Linked DNA regions of Homo sapiens: region 1 is linked to region 2. The links are contacts of gene promoters, found by promoter capture Hi-C in blood cells and fetal thymus (Javierre and others, 2016). All regions are on one chromosome and are shown on one strand. Each heading gives the region's core, a stretch centred on a gene start or on the middle of the fragment in contact. The rest is flanking DNA. Distances are from core to core; before and after follow the strand shown.

Region 1 (6,699 bases), core at 3,129-5,628, 170 kb before region 2:
CAAAACAACAACAACAAAACAATTGCAAAACCTAAAGAAAATCATTAATCTAGTCCAGACCAGCCTTTTACAGATGAGGTCACTGAAGTGCAGAGTGGTGAACTGACTTGTCTGATGTTACACAGCAAGTCATGGCACAGCTTGACCTGAAACCCAAAGCCAAGTTGTTTTCTATTACCTCCAGGTCCTTCAGTCCAGCCCTCCTGGGGCTCTGCCTTGGGAACTGGTATTGGTGACAAACGGATTAGAGAGGAACATGCATGGAGCTCTCCATTTAGACTGACATATTCGCATTGTGCCTGGGCACCGGCAAGAAACAGTGCAAGCTCCAAGAGTGCTCGCCCCAACCCTTTTCCCCCTCCCCATCCTCTCTCATAACCAACTTCAGCTAAAAGGTCTGAGAAGAAAAGGGAATCTTAGATGACTCTCACTAGGGTGTAAATGACTCCCACCATGATTTTTGTTTTATTGAGACATAACCCCAAAAGCAGTTTGATGGATAGTGTGCCAGGCAGTAGGATGAAGACAGATGGGGAAACTGCCTGGGGTCATGGAGAAGGTGGAGGCACTGAGGCCCTGAGTGATTTTATAAGCACTTTAAGAAAGGTCCAGCACCATGATTTCTTACCTTCACTACCCAGGACCAATAAGGTCCCACGTCCTGACAGATTTTGTTTATCAGACAAATTGCACTCAGTCATGCTTCATTTTCCTCCAAGAGTTCCCAGGTTACATAGAATTGAGATAATCTCCCCACCTTGCCATCACCCCCACAAAGACACTCCATGTTTCTGTTTACAATACAGTCTTATATGGATTGATATTAGATTTTCAGGTGCTCTTTGCATTTTGCAACTATTGCTCAAGCTGGAGACCCAAAACGAGCACTAGCTTTACAGTCAAAGACCCCTGGGTTCCAGTTTCAGCTGAGAGACTGTAAGCACATCGCTAGCCCACTCTGATCCTGTCTCCTAGTTGTATAATCACCTCTTTCCCATCAATTGCGAGGCTGGAGAGAAAAGTGTCCACTCTGTGCCCAGTACACAGTAGGAGCTTAGTAAGCTTAAGCTCTCTTGCTTCCTCACTATCCTAAAGTGGTAGCGGAAAGACAGATGTGGGGAATGGCACCTGGGAGGCTCCAGCTGTATGCTTCACAATCCTACCAACGAAAAATCTGAATTAGGCTTCAGTTTCCCGTCTACAAAATGAGACAGGACAGGAGTGGGTAGGAAGAGGAGGAGCTTGGCCTTGTTGGTTTAAGCTGGGCTCGTCTGATTCTGTAACGCGGGCTTCATTGCAGGGTCCAGCCCACTCCCCAGCCAGGGCTTCGTGTGCTCTGAATGTCTTTTGGCCAAGTCCAAGGCTATCCAGGGTCGGGGTCGGGAGGCTGGGTGGAGGGTAGTAGGGTGGAGAGAAGCAGTTCCCGCATATAACCTGCAGGTGGCACCAGAGCAGCGCGGGAGCCGAGGGTTCCGCTCCAGCCTTCCTGGAGACCCGAGCAGGGCGGGGTAGGGCAAGGCAGAGGTTGTGCACACCGCTCATCTGGGCAGTGGCACAGGGCTGCGGATCAGTCCACACTGTTTGAAATAGACACATGGGTCGTCTGGCTCATTTCCTCTCTTTGGTAGGGTGATCATATGCTTTATCATCCAAATTCTTCGGAGAGTGAAAGGGACACTATTATAATTGCACCGGCACAACAGACATAACCTTAGCTGTACCTTGCAAACCAGAACATATTGCAACCCTACCCTCCGGTCACTTTTTCTTCCTTGTTTCCATTCTTTCTTTTAATTTATTTTCTTTTTAAACACACAGCATTCTCTTTCCCCCAAGCACCACTGTCTTTGAAAATGCCCTTGCAATTGGGATATTTTCAACAGGGCAACATCTGCTTTCGCATCTTGAGTCTGAACAGTGTCTCTGAACCCACCCCAAAGGCTGGTTTTAGCTTCCAGTCAGAAGACTCTGTTCTCTGGCTTACCATCCCCATGACTCAAGAATTAAAGATGTCAGACGTGGAACAGTGACCCTTATCTCAACTTTGGTGCCTCTTTGCTAAATTTATTCCTGTAATTTTGTTCTGAGTGCTCATGTCCTTTATCTCATTGAATTTACATATATTAGTTTATCAAATTACAAGCAGACAAGCCCCATTAAGCAGGATTCTTATATTTCCAAGATCACCCCATTACTCCATTCAACCCCAAATTAGCATGCCATTTATCTCCTTGTTTCTGAACCGTCTTCACTTAATAGTCTCGTAAACATCCATCCATTGCAAAAAGGACTCAAACTGTTCTCACTTCCATTTTTAGTTGATTCATTGATATCCAAGTAATTGATTTGTCTGGAGGAGTCATTAGTAGAGAACTGTGCCCTTAAATTTAGTTTTATAGTGGAATTCTGCTAATTAATATCTCTCTGTGTCATTCTCACATTGCAGCAAATGACCATGGGTTTCTATCTTAACCTAAAATCTAGGTTAGAAATTTGATCTTATCTGAGTAAGATATTAATAGATAATGTGAGGCTTTTTTAAATTTACTGAACATTTTCTCAGCTAAGAATGACACTCATGGTCACAAATATCTATGTAAGCAAGCAGAAAATTGGGCTGTAAATATATAAACACTTAAAATATCATGTTTAGAGACAAGATTTTCCTTTTTTTTTCTTTTTAGTAAAGTATATTTGCTATGGTTGGAATGTTTGTGTCTCCTCCAAAATTCATGTTGGAACTTAAACCCCCATGTGATAGTATTAAGGGGTGGTGTCTTTAGGAGATGACTAAATCGTGAGGGAGGAGCCCCCTCATGAATGGGATTAGCGACCTTATGAAAGGGCTTGAGGGAGCGACCTAGCTCAGTTTTCTTCTTTTGCTTTTCTGTTCTTTCCACCATGCTGGGACACAGCGTTTCTCACCTCTGGAGGACTCAGCATTCAAGGTGCCATCTTGGAAGCAGAGAGCAGCCCTCACTAGACTACAAACCTGCTGGCGCTTTGATCTTGGACTTCCCACCCACCAGAACTGTGAGAAATACATTTTTGTTCTTTACACATTACCCAGTCTCAGATATTTTGTTACAGCAGCACACATGGACTAAGACAGTATCTTACATACAGCGAGGTGCATATACCTTAAGCTACAACTCCTTACTATTTACATATGTGCACACTCATGTGACCGCCACTCAGCTCAAGATACAGAATGTTCCCATCAGCACAGAGGGCTCCCTCTTGCGCCTTCTTAGTTGCTGTCCCTGCAAAGTTAACCAGGATCCTGACCTCTGTCACCATGGATTAGTTTCACCTGTTCTTGAACTTCATATAAATGGGATCATTCAGTATGTGCAGGTTTGTGGCTGGCTTCTTTCACTCAACATAATCCTGTGAGATTTAGCCATGTTTTGGGTACTGGTAGTTGTTTATTTTTCTGGTTGTGTAGTTTTCCATATTTCATTTATTACCCTTCTGTTTTTATGTCTAACTCAGTGTTTTGTGGGGTATATTGGTCCTTTTTAGCTAGATTGATATTAAACATCTTATCAATGAAGCTTAGGAGATTTTTAGAAGACAAAAGCCTAATAAACTCAAGCCCCCCAAACTTAAGCCAAGTTTCCTTCTCACCCCTGCTTGAGTTGTTCTTCTTCATGTGGTATTCTTTTCCTCACAAAGCTGAGGGAAAATCAAGGAACACAAGAGCTCTTCATCATGTTATCAGCTTAGGGATGCTTGTCATCTGAATAACAGGGTAGATATTTATAATCCAAAATGTTAAAATAACTAGAGCAAACACTTACATAGCACTGACTGCTGTTCACAGTGCTTTACATATATTATTTTCCTCAAAACAACTCTGTGAAATAGACACTATTATTGTCATCCCCACATTTTAGATGGGGAAATGGAGGCACAGAGAGACCATGTAACTCTCCCAAGGTGGTAGGGCCAGGACTTGAACCTGGGTTTTCTGGTTTTAGAGCCTGCACCCTTCACCACCACACCATATTGTGTAGCATGATACTTCCTGTGGTTAAAGTGTTTTCTTATATTAGCTTGGGAGCTTTTCTGAATAATTCAAATCTTATAAATTTGCTTCAAAGAATACAAGAAATTGAAATGGAAGATCTAATATAGAATGTGTGGGATTCATGAATAAATTATAGGACTCTCTGGTTTTAATAATAATTATTTGCTTATCTTGTGACTTTTGTCAGGCAGGGTTATAATGTGCTATCCTCATTTTCCTCCTCTTCAACGGGAGGAGATGGGCTCAGAGACAGGCACAATTTATCATAAAGTCTCATCACACTTTCCCTCACCATCTGGAAGCTGGAGATAGGTTTGTGAAATCTTGGTTGAGAAAGAGTTGAATGCCACTTGTAGCATAGTGAGTTTTATAAAGATGGTTTTACTAGCCAGTTCTGTTGCAGAGAGTCCTGCAAGTTTTTGCAATTAATGTGACCAACAGTTTTCTCACAAAGATTATCAGGGCTCTAGAGGAAATTATCTTCCAGTTTTATTCTGCTGCTAAAGTGCTCTATTTCTTTATAGATGAACTAATTAATTCTTGGTCACTTGTTCTCCCTTAGACATTTCTCTGCCTCTTTATGCTGTGCTTTATGTCTCTTTATGCTCAGCCCCAGGTTTTTCCTTCTAACTGCAAGAAGAAGATTATTGAAATTTTCTCTCTCTCAAACTCCCAGGCTCAAGTGATCCTCCCCTGTCTACCTCTTGTGTAGCTGGCATTACAGGTGTGCACCACTGCACCCTGCTGATTTTCTCTTTAACCTTCCCCCTGAGCATGTGTACACACACACACACACACACAAACATACATATAGACACACAGACCTCCACATGTATACACACACACAGAGACACACATATATCCACACATACTCATTAGAAATACATTTACACACACACACACGTGCACACACACGTATACCCACCTTCCTTCCATCTTCTTCTCAGGACTCAGGGCTCTCAGAGTAGTGGAAAGAGTCTTGTACCATGAGTCAAGGATCAACTGTGCAACTTTGCTCAAGTGTCCTTCCTTTTGAGATCTCATCTATAATAAACATTCTTATGTTTATTATAGATAACCAAAATAACCCATCAATTAGGGTTATTTTGAAGATAAAACAGATAGGAAGGATAACAGAATGATGACATGTTAAAAAATTAAGCTTGACCAAAAAAAGGTCTGGCTTTTGTCCTAGACTCCTGGGAGGTAATCTTCAACACGTAATGCCTGATAGGAATATCTTTGCCTGGGGATCTTGGGTCATGATGGATAGTCTAATAATAAGATGGTGGGGGCCGGGCGCGGTGGCTCACACCTGTAATCCCAGCACTTTGGGAGGCTGAGGCGGGCGGATCACAAGGTCAGGAGATCGAGACCATCCTGGCTAACATGGTGAAACCTCGTCTCTACTAAAAATACAAAAAATTAGCTGGGCGTCATGGTGGGCACCCGTGGTCCCAGCTACTTGGGAGGCTGAGGCAGGAGAATGGCGTGAACCCAGGAGGCAGAGCTTGCAGTGAGCCGAGATCGCACCACTGCACTCCAGCCTGGGTGACAGAGTGAGACTCCGTCTCAAAAAAAAAAAAAAAGAAAAAAAAAAAAAGATAGTGGGAACTAGCCAAGCCAGGAAAAGTGACTATGTGATTTAGAGTCCAGGCTTTAGGTCACCCCTAAAAGGACTGGAGACTGGAAACTGAGAGCAGCCACATGGACAATCAATCATGCCTCTTTGATGAAGTTCCAATAAAAACCCTGAACACTGAGGCTTGAGGGAGCCTCACTGGCTGAGAATACTCCATGTGTATTGGCACATAGCAAAGCCGGGAGGGTAATGCACTCTGACTGCATGGGGAAGGGATAATGGACACTCCATGCCTGGTGCTCTCCTGGACCCAGCACTATGCCTTTCTTCCCCTGGCTGATTTTAATCTGTCTCCTTTCCATGTAATCAAGCCATAACTATGAGTATAACAGCTTTCTGTGAGTTCTAGCCAATTCTTAGAGGTAAGCAAGCAGAGCTCATCTACTGCCTGCTTGAAAAAAACTATTTAAAAATCCCTAAACTGAAGAAGGCCAGAGCTCTCATGAATCTGACTCAACAGTTTTTGAAGCCAAAGCTGAGGGCATTTGAAGCCAAAGCCAGGCCAGACAGAGATGAGGCTCCTGGGGGGGAACAGGTGCAGTCCTGCTCAGGCTGCGGTGTCCCTGGGCTACAGCTCGATGAGGACTCCTTCTGGGTCACAGCTTCTAGGGGAAGAGTTTGGGGCAGGTTGACTGTCTGATTTGTAGGACTCTGGTGATGAGCTCAGCTGGGAAACTGTGTGGTAATGGGAAGAGAATGGTTTTGCTTTTCCAAATCATCTACCCCCTGTATGCTTGGATCCACATGGGAACTCAGTGTGGAAACTGCCTTTGAAGAGCCTAACCCTGAACTCTGGGCCATGTGTCCAGTTTCCTGGCCTCCAGCTTTGTTCACTCCTTACCCCTACCCATCACTGATGCCAGATCCATCCTCCCAAATATCCTTTCATCCTGTTACCCTCCCCACCACCTCATGGCACCTTCTACATGACAGGAAATGCCTCCCACCTCAGCCTGGCATTCAAGGTTCTTTTGATGTGGCCACCTCTCACCACCCCACCACATCTCCCTGTGGGCCCTGCCAA
Region 2 (6,018 bases), core at 3,294-5,793:
CGAATAAAATTTTCAAAAAAATTAAATACCTCCAAATTGTGTATAAGCTTGTTTGATATCACACAGCGCTGTAACCAACTGCTCACAAGGTATTGGCTCCTGATACTGTAATAAATACCTAGGATAAAGAGATGGGCACATTAGTAGTTTTCTCTAAAACACAGACAGACTCTAAGGAAAATATTCTCTGAAAAGCAATCTATGCCATGGGGACAACCTAACAGTCATTTGTAATTTGAAGGGGAGGGAACAAGTCAACATCTGAATATTCTCATAGTAAATAATATTTTGTAAGTTTGGTTGAAAAAAATCTGTAATTTTCAATTCAAAGATTTTTAATGACTTTAATCTTTGCAAAAGTGAGCTCTCCTTAGAAACATCAAAACTAGGCCAGGTGCAGTGGCTAATGCCTGTAATCCCAGCACTTTGGGAGGCCAAGGCAGGCGGATCACGAGGTCAGGAAATCGAGACCATCCTGGCTAACACAGTGAAACCCCGTCTCTACTAAAAATACAAAAATTAACCCGGTGTGGTGGTCAGCTACTTGGGAGGCTGAGGCAGGAGAATCGCTTGAACCCGGGAGGCGGAGGTTGCAGTGAGCCAAGATCGTGCCACTGCACTCCAGCCTGGGTGACAGAGTGAGACTCTGTCTCAAAAAAAAAAAAAAGAAACATCAAAACTAATTTCTGTATCATCAGTTATGCTATTTATGACCATACCTTTGAGCAATGAGCCTTAGTTCATTAGTCAGAACATTAGCATCAGAAGTTATGCCTGCCACACTGCAAGCCATGTCCCTTGAAGAAAAAAAGACATTGATCTGTAAGCAGGGAAGATGCTTGCAAGGAGTGTTTATAAGTATTTAAAAAATTCTAATTTCTATTAGAAATTCACTATGTTTGCTTCACAACAGCTACTTCCTTCAGAAAAAACCTACAAGTTTTATCTTTGTAGGAGATGTTTACTCGATGTCACTCAACATGAAAGATAAACAAATGCACCCTTTAAGTTATTTAATAGATGTATTTATCATTACCACCTATGAATAGGATAACAAAATTAACGCCAAGAAGCTAATGTAATCTCAAGAAGATTCAGCAACAAAGAATAAAAAGACAGGCTTGCCACAATGGCTCACGCCTGTAATCCCAGCACTTTGGGAGGCCGAGGTAGATGGAGGGCTTGAGCCCAGGAGATCAAGAACAGCCTGGGCAATACGGCAAAATCCCATCTCAACAAAATATACAAAAACTAACTGGGTGTGGTGGTGCGCACCTATAGTCCCAGCTACTTGGGCGGCTGAGGTGGGAGGATCACTTGAGCCCAGGAGGCAGAAGCTGCAGTGAGCCAAGATGGCGTCACCGTACTCCAGCCTGGGTGACAGAGCAAGAATCTGTCTCAAAAAAAAAAAAAAAAAAAAGATTTTGCTAGACAGACTGCTCTTGAGTAATATTCATTTCCTAAGGCCTGGCTTGACAGAGGTGACAGGGGACAATGGCAGGAGGGTTTACAAGCCTGCTTAGGAAGTACAGGGCTAGGCTCCTACTAGAGGTGCATTTCATTTTTTTGGGCCCACTTCCTGAGGGCTGCCCTGGCTCTCTTATAGCTGAGACTCGCCCTGTGACTACGCCTAGCCAAGCCTGCCAGCTGTTGAGTGGTCCCAACAGAGGCTCTGTGGAGGGGTGACACCACTTTGGACAAGTTTATCAAAAGGCCCTGATAATCAGCATTTACCAAGCCCACCACCACTGAAAGGAAAGTCTCTACTTAGCACGGTCAGCTCTCCATGAGCTGCAAAGTTCTGCACACTCAAATATAACAAACATTTCACACAGTGTACAAGGCTTGGCTAAATTCTTCGAGACCTCTAAGAGGCTTGTTCTTTAGTAAGATTCAGTGTAATTCAACAAAATCCTGCGTAGCTATTCTAAACAATACTTTGAGGGCCTACTAAATGCCAGATACTATACTATTTTATTTCATTCATTTTATTTCATTAAACTGCCACAACCACTTTAGGAGGCTCTGAGGCCCAAAGAAATTAAATAATCGGTGCAAGGTCACATAGCCTGCATGGGTGAAGCCTGGAGTTGAACCCAAATCTGTGTGACTACTAAGTCTGTACTCTTATCATTACACAATGCTAGTTTCTCCACTAAGTGTTTGCCCTGCACTTAAAAGGAGTAACACATGGTACCAGGCCTCAAAGAGGTTTCAAGCAAAATAAAGGCACAATTTCAATTCTACCACATCGCACGGAAGAGCCCTCCCAAATTACATAGATCCCACTTATGTGAGAAAGTGAGATTTTTTTTAAACTCTTTCCTAAAATCTCACTTACTCATTGAGTTTATAAATTTTTTCAGAAAAAAAGACTTCATCAAGAAGCTTGTGGATGTTGCGTCTCTCTGCTGCAAGCAAAACACCATCATTTGCTAAAATTCCCAAACAGGTGCCTGCATGTCCAATAGCTTCCATGGCATATTCAACTTGGTATAAGCGACCTACAAAACAAAAGCAGTGAGAAGCCAAGACTCTCCTCTGTGCTCCTGCACCACTGGCCCAAAAGAAATCAGCAATGAAGCAAGCTAGAAACAAATTTCCACTTTCACTCTTCTATGGTATAATCAACCTGGTGATGATAATTGCTTCAAAGTACAAAAAGGATGAACTTTGCAACTACCAAAAAAAGTTTGTAATTTTTTTTTCTAAAAGTCTAACACATTTATTTTTAAACTTGAGGCAGATTAAACAATTTCTATTTTACCTTCTGGAGAAAATATAGTGGTCCTGGAGTCATATCTTCGAGACTGCAAAGGAAAAACACATGAGTGATTCCTACCCACTGAAAGTAGGCCAACTCCTGCAAGCCTACAAATGATCTTACAAAACCTATCCTGGTATACAAAGTTCAATAGGTGAGAGGAAACTGACAAGAAAAAAGGCACCTTCTCACTGCTTTCCTTCTATTTCAATTTTCCCACTCAAGTCTGTAAACTGAGTACAAGCAATACTGTTTATCAGGCAACCGTTTATTGGCATGTGTATTAACTCACCATGTTTTCTGAACTTTATATAGTTCCTGTAAAAAGAAAATCAGATCATCATTAAAATAAGATTCACAAATTAAAAAGCATTTGCTGACTTTACAAATCTGTTTTATTTACTCCCTTTATTCAGCTAAGTGTCAGGCATTATGCTAGATGCTGGAATACCAAAATGTGTAAAACCAGTTCCTGTCCTGAAAAGCTAATACTGGCAGTTAGGTGAGAGAGGCAGTCATAGATTATAATGTGGAAAGAGGAACCGGGGGTAGGGTGGGAAAAGGGATGATGAAAGAATCAAGAAAGTATTTTTTGAGAAATCGATACAGAAAATGAAAGTAAATCAGAGATGGGAGAGGCAGAAATAAGGCTGAGAACCCTTGGGTCTAAGAGAAAGAACAGGGGAAGAAAGAAGGGCATTCCACACAGAGCAGAAAGTATGAACAAAGGGTACGGAGGCAGGATAGTTTAGTGGGCATGAGATAAACTGCTGATGCTTTTAAAATATATATAAATAAGAGCTAAGCGAGTATCCAAATCACGCAGAGCCTTGAAAGCCAAGGCAAGAGGCTGAGGCCTTCTCCAGAGAGTGATCTGGGTCCTGAACTTGGGGGTGGAGGCAGTTATCTTGGGCACCATCAGTACCATTCGTGCAAAAGGCAATACTAGGTGTTCAGCGTTATTTGGTAAAGCCTCAGTCCAAGGCCCACATTTCCAAATACTGGAATATAGGGAATCAAGACTGGAAAGGTAAGCTGGAATCAAATCCTGGAGAGCCCGCGTGCCCAGGTAAAAACAGAATTTTATCTCTCAGCCAATGGGGCTCCTCTGAATGATTCCCAAGGCCCACAGGAACTGATTGGCATTTTAAATGATCACTCTGGCTGGTGAGAGACCGAGGGCAGCGAACTGGTTGAGGTAATTGCAATAGGAATGGTGCAAAGTAAGGATGGCACAGAGCAGAGAAGCAGGGAGGACACAGAGACACTCGCCGGGGATTTCTGATTCGAGCTTTAAGCACAACTTTCTGTTGTCTCCACGCCTGACGCCGGGCACAGCACTATTTTGAGTTCACCGGCACCTCCGGGAGAGCTAACTTTCACGTACCGAACTCCTGAGGACGGAAGCCACCCCAACTCTCGGTCCTGCCCACAGACCCCCACCCTCAGCCCGCCCCCTCGCGGGCCCCGGCGTCCAGGCTTGGCACTGGGAAGCCCCCGACGGCGGCCGGCGGGGGCCATTCCCGGCGGTCGGTCCGTCACAGAGGAGGCGGTGCAGAGTCATCGTGCCCACGGCTCCTCGGCGGCAACTGCAGGCCGGGACCGACTGTCTTGACGTTCACGACCCCCGCCCAATGGGAAAGCGGCCAAGCTTCCGCGGGCCCCAAGGGGCCAAAGGCTCACCAGATGGAAGACCCTGAAGACCTGAGATGTCCACGGAGCCCTTAACTCCACGGAAGAATAAACCACCACCGCTCACCGAATAACCGCTGCTAATATGGCCCCCGCGCATGCGCAGAACCGCTGGGTTGGGGCGGGGGGAGCGGGACGGCCGAGGACGCGGAAGTCCTTCTTGCGGGGCGGAGCTAGAACCCGTGCCCCTCGTGGGAGCTGGGTCGCGGGGGTGCTGAGGCTCTGGGGCGCTGCAGCTTAGGCTAGGGTCCTCAGCAGGTGGAGGAGTTGCTGTGCCATGGGGAAGAGGGCAGGAAGACAGTAGCCAACCAGGAGGTGGAATAGCTAATTTCTTTCTCTTACCCTTGGCGCTCTCCTTTCATTTTCTCTTCACTATTCAGACCTAGGATAGCAAATAGTGTGGACCGGCTTCTTAATTGCTATCATTCCTGTCCTGTTTCCCAAAATGGTTCCAACCACATGAGACTTTACCCCTCTCATCACCTTCCTTTTTCATTCTGGCTTTCACTTTTACTGCTGATGCATACATTTTGGACATACACATTATGATGAGGAAGGCCGGGTGGCTCATGCCTGTAATCCCAGCACCTTGGGAGGTCGAGGCGGGTGGATCACCTGAGGTCGGGAGTTCGAGACCAGCTTGGCCAACATGGTGAAACCGTCTCTACTAAAATTAACAAAAATTAGCCGGGTGTGTGGTGCACGCCTGTAATCCCAGCTACTTGGGAGGCTGAGGCACGAGAATCGCTTGAACTCGGGAGGCGGAGGTTGCAGTGAGCCGAGAGTGCGCCACTTCACTCCAGCCTGAGACTCCATCTCAAAAAAAAAAAAATTATGATGAGGGTCGAGCATGGTGACTCATGCTTGTAATTACACCGCTTTGGGAGGCTGAGGCAGGAGGATGGCTTGAGGCTAGGAGTTTGGAGGCTGCAGTGAGCTATGATCGCACCACTGCACTCCAGCCTGGGTGACAGAGAAAGACACTGGCTCTAAAAATTAAATTAAAAAAAATTATGATCAGGTTCACACTTTTGGGGGAATTTTCACCTTGGTCTCTTTCTCTGCTTTTCACCAGTCAGAAAGGATTTCCCTGACCAGCACAGTTAAAGCAATACCCTACCGTCAGCATATACTCGCACCATTTTATCTTCTTTACTGAAATTGTCATACTTGTTTCTGTGTTCATTATCCATCTCTCCACCTTTTTGCTCATTCAGCCTCGGTCCGTATGTAAACTATCTACTATGCATTTTAGGTTTTTTCAGGCTAGAAGGTTGACTAGATCTGGGTTAATATGAAGTCATCTGCTCACAGTCTCTCCCAAAAAGCAGCCCACTGGGCAGAAACTCCTCTTCATGTTGGTTGCAAAATTATTGGGGGATCTGGGCTTTGAAAAGGAGATAGCTTGGAAGTAAGTTACATTTTGAGGTCTCGCCTATCGTCTCTACTTTCCAAGCACACAGGGAAGTGAGCCAAGGCAAGATGGCAAAGAGCCACACGCAGGTGGTGCTCTGAAAGCATCCTCAGGTGGTGTAACTTATGGCATCTCTGAGGGCCCCTGC

The links. The method cuts DNA at HindIII sites, captures the fragments that hold promoters and counts their contacts. A CHiCAGO score of 5 or more calls a contact.
Region 1: a fragment that was not itself captured here is called in contact with the fragment with the promoter of PSMA4 in region 2 in 1 of 17 cell types (fetal thymus); the score reaches 5.5 in fetal thymus.

Annotation. Positions count from the first base shown.
Region 1 is chr15:78,704,322-78,711,020 of GRCh38, reverse strand. It overlaps LOC105370913 (a long non-coding RNA gene), which reads left to right. Exons shown (of 3, transcript XR_932509.2): 2 at 2,916-3,033. Among named protein-coding and RNA genes, the nearest start is that of CHRNB4, 66 kb to the right of the region's middle. The HindIII fragment of the contact is 1,638 bases long and covers 3,560-5,197 here.
Region 2 is chr15:78,538,969-78,544,986 of GRCh38, reverse strand. It overlaps PSMA4 (proteasome 20S subunit alpha 4), which reads right to left and starts at 4,543. Exons shown (of 9, transcript NM_002789.6): 1 at 4,448-4,543; 2 at 3,057-3,082; 3 at 2,768-2,810; 4 at 2,342-2,504; 5 at 720-797; 6 at 30-118. The coding sequence starts at 3,059. RefSeq lists enhancers at 3,395-4,287, 4,396-4,505 and a silencer at 4,046-4,315. The HindIII fragment of the contact is 17,328 bases long and covers 4,418-6,018 here.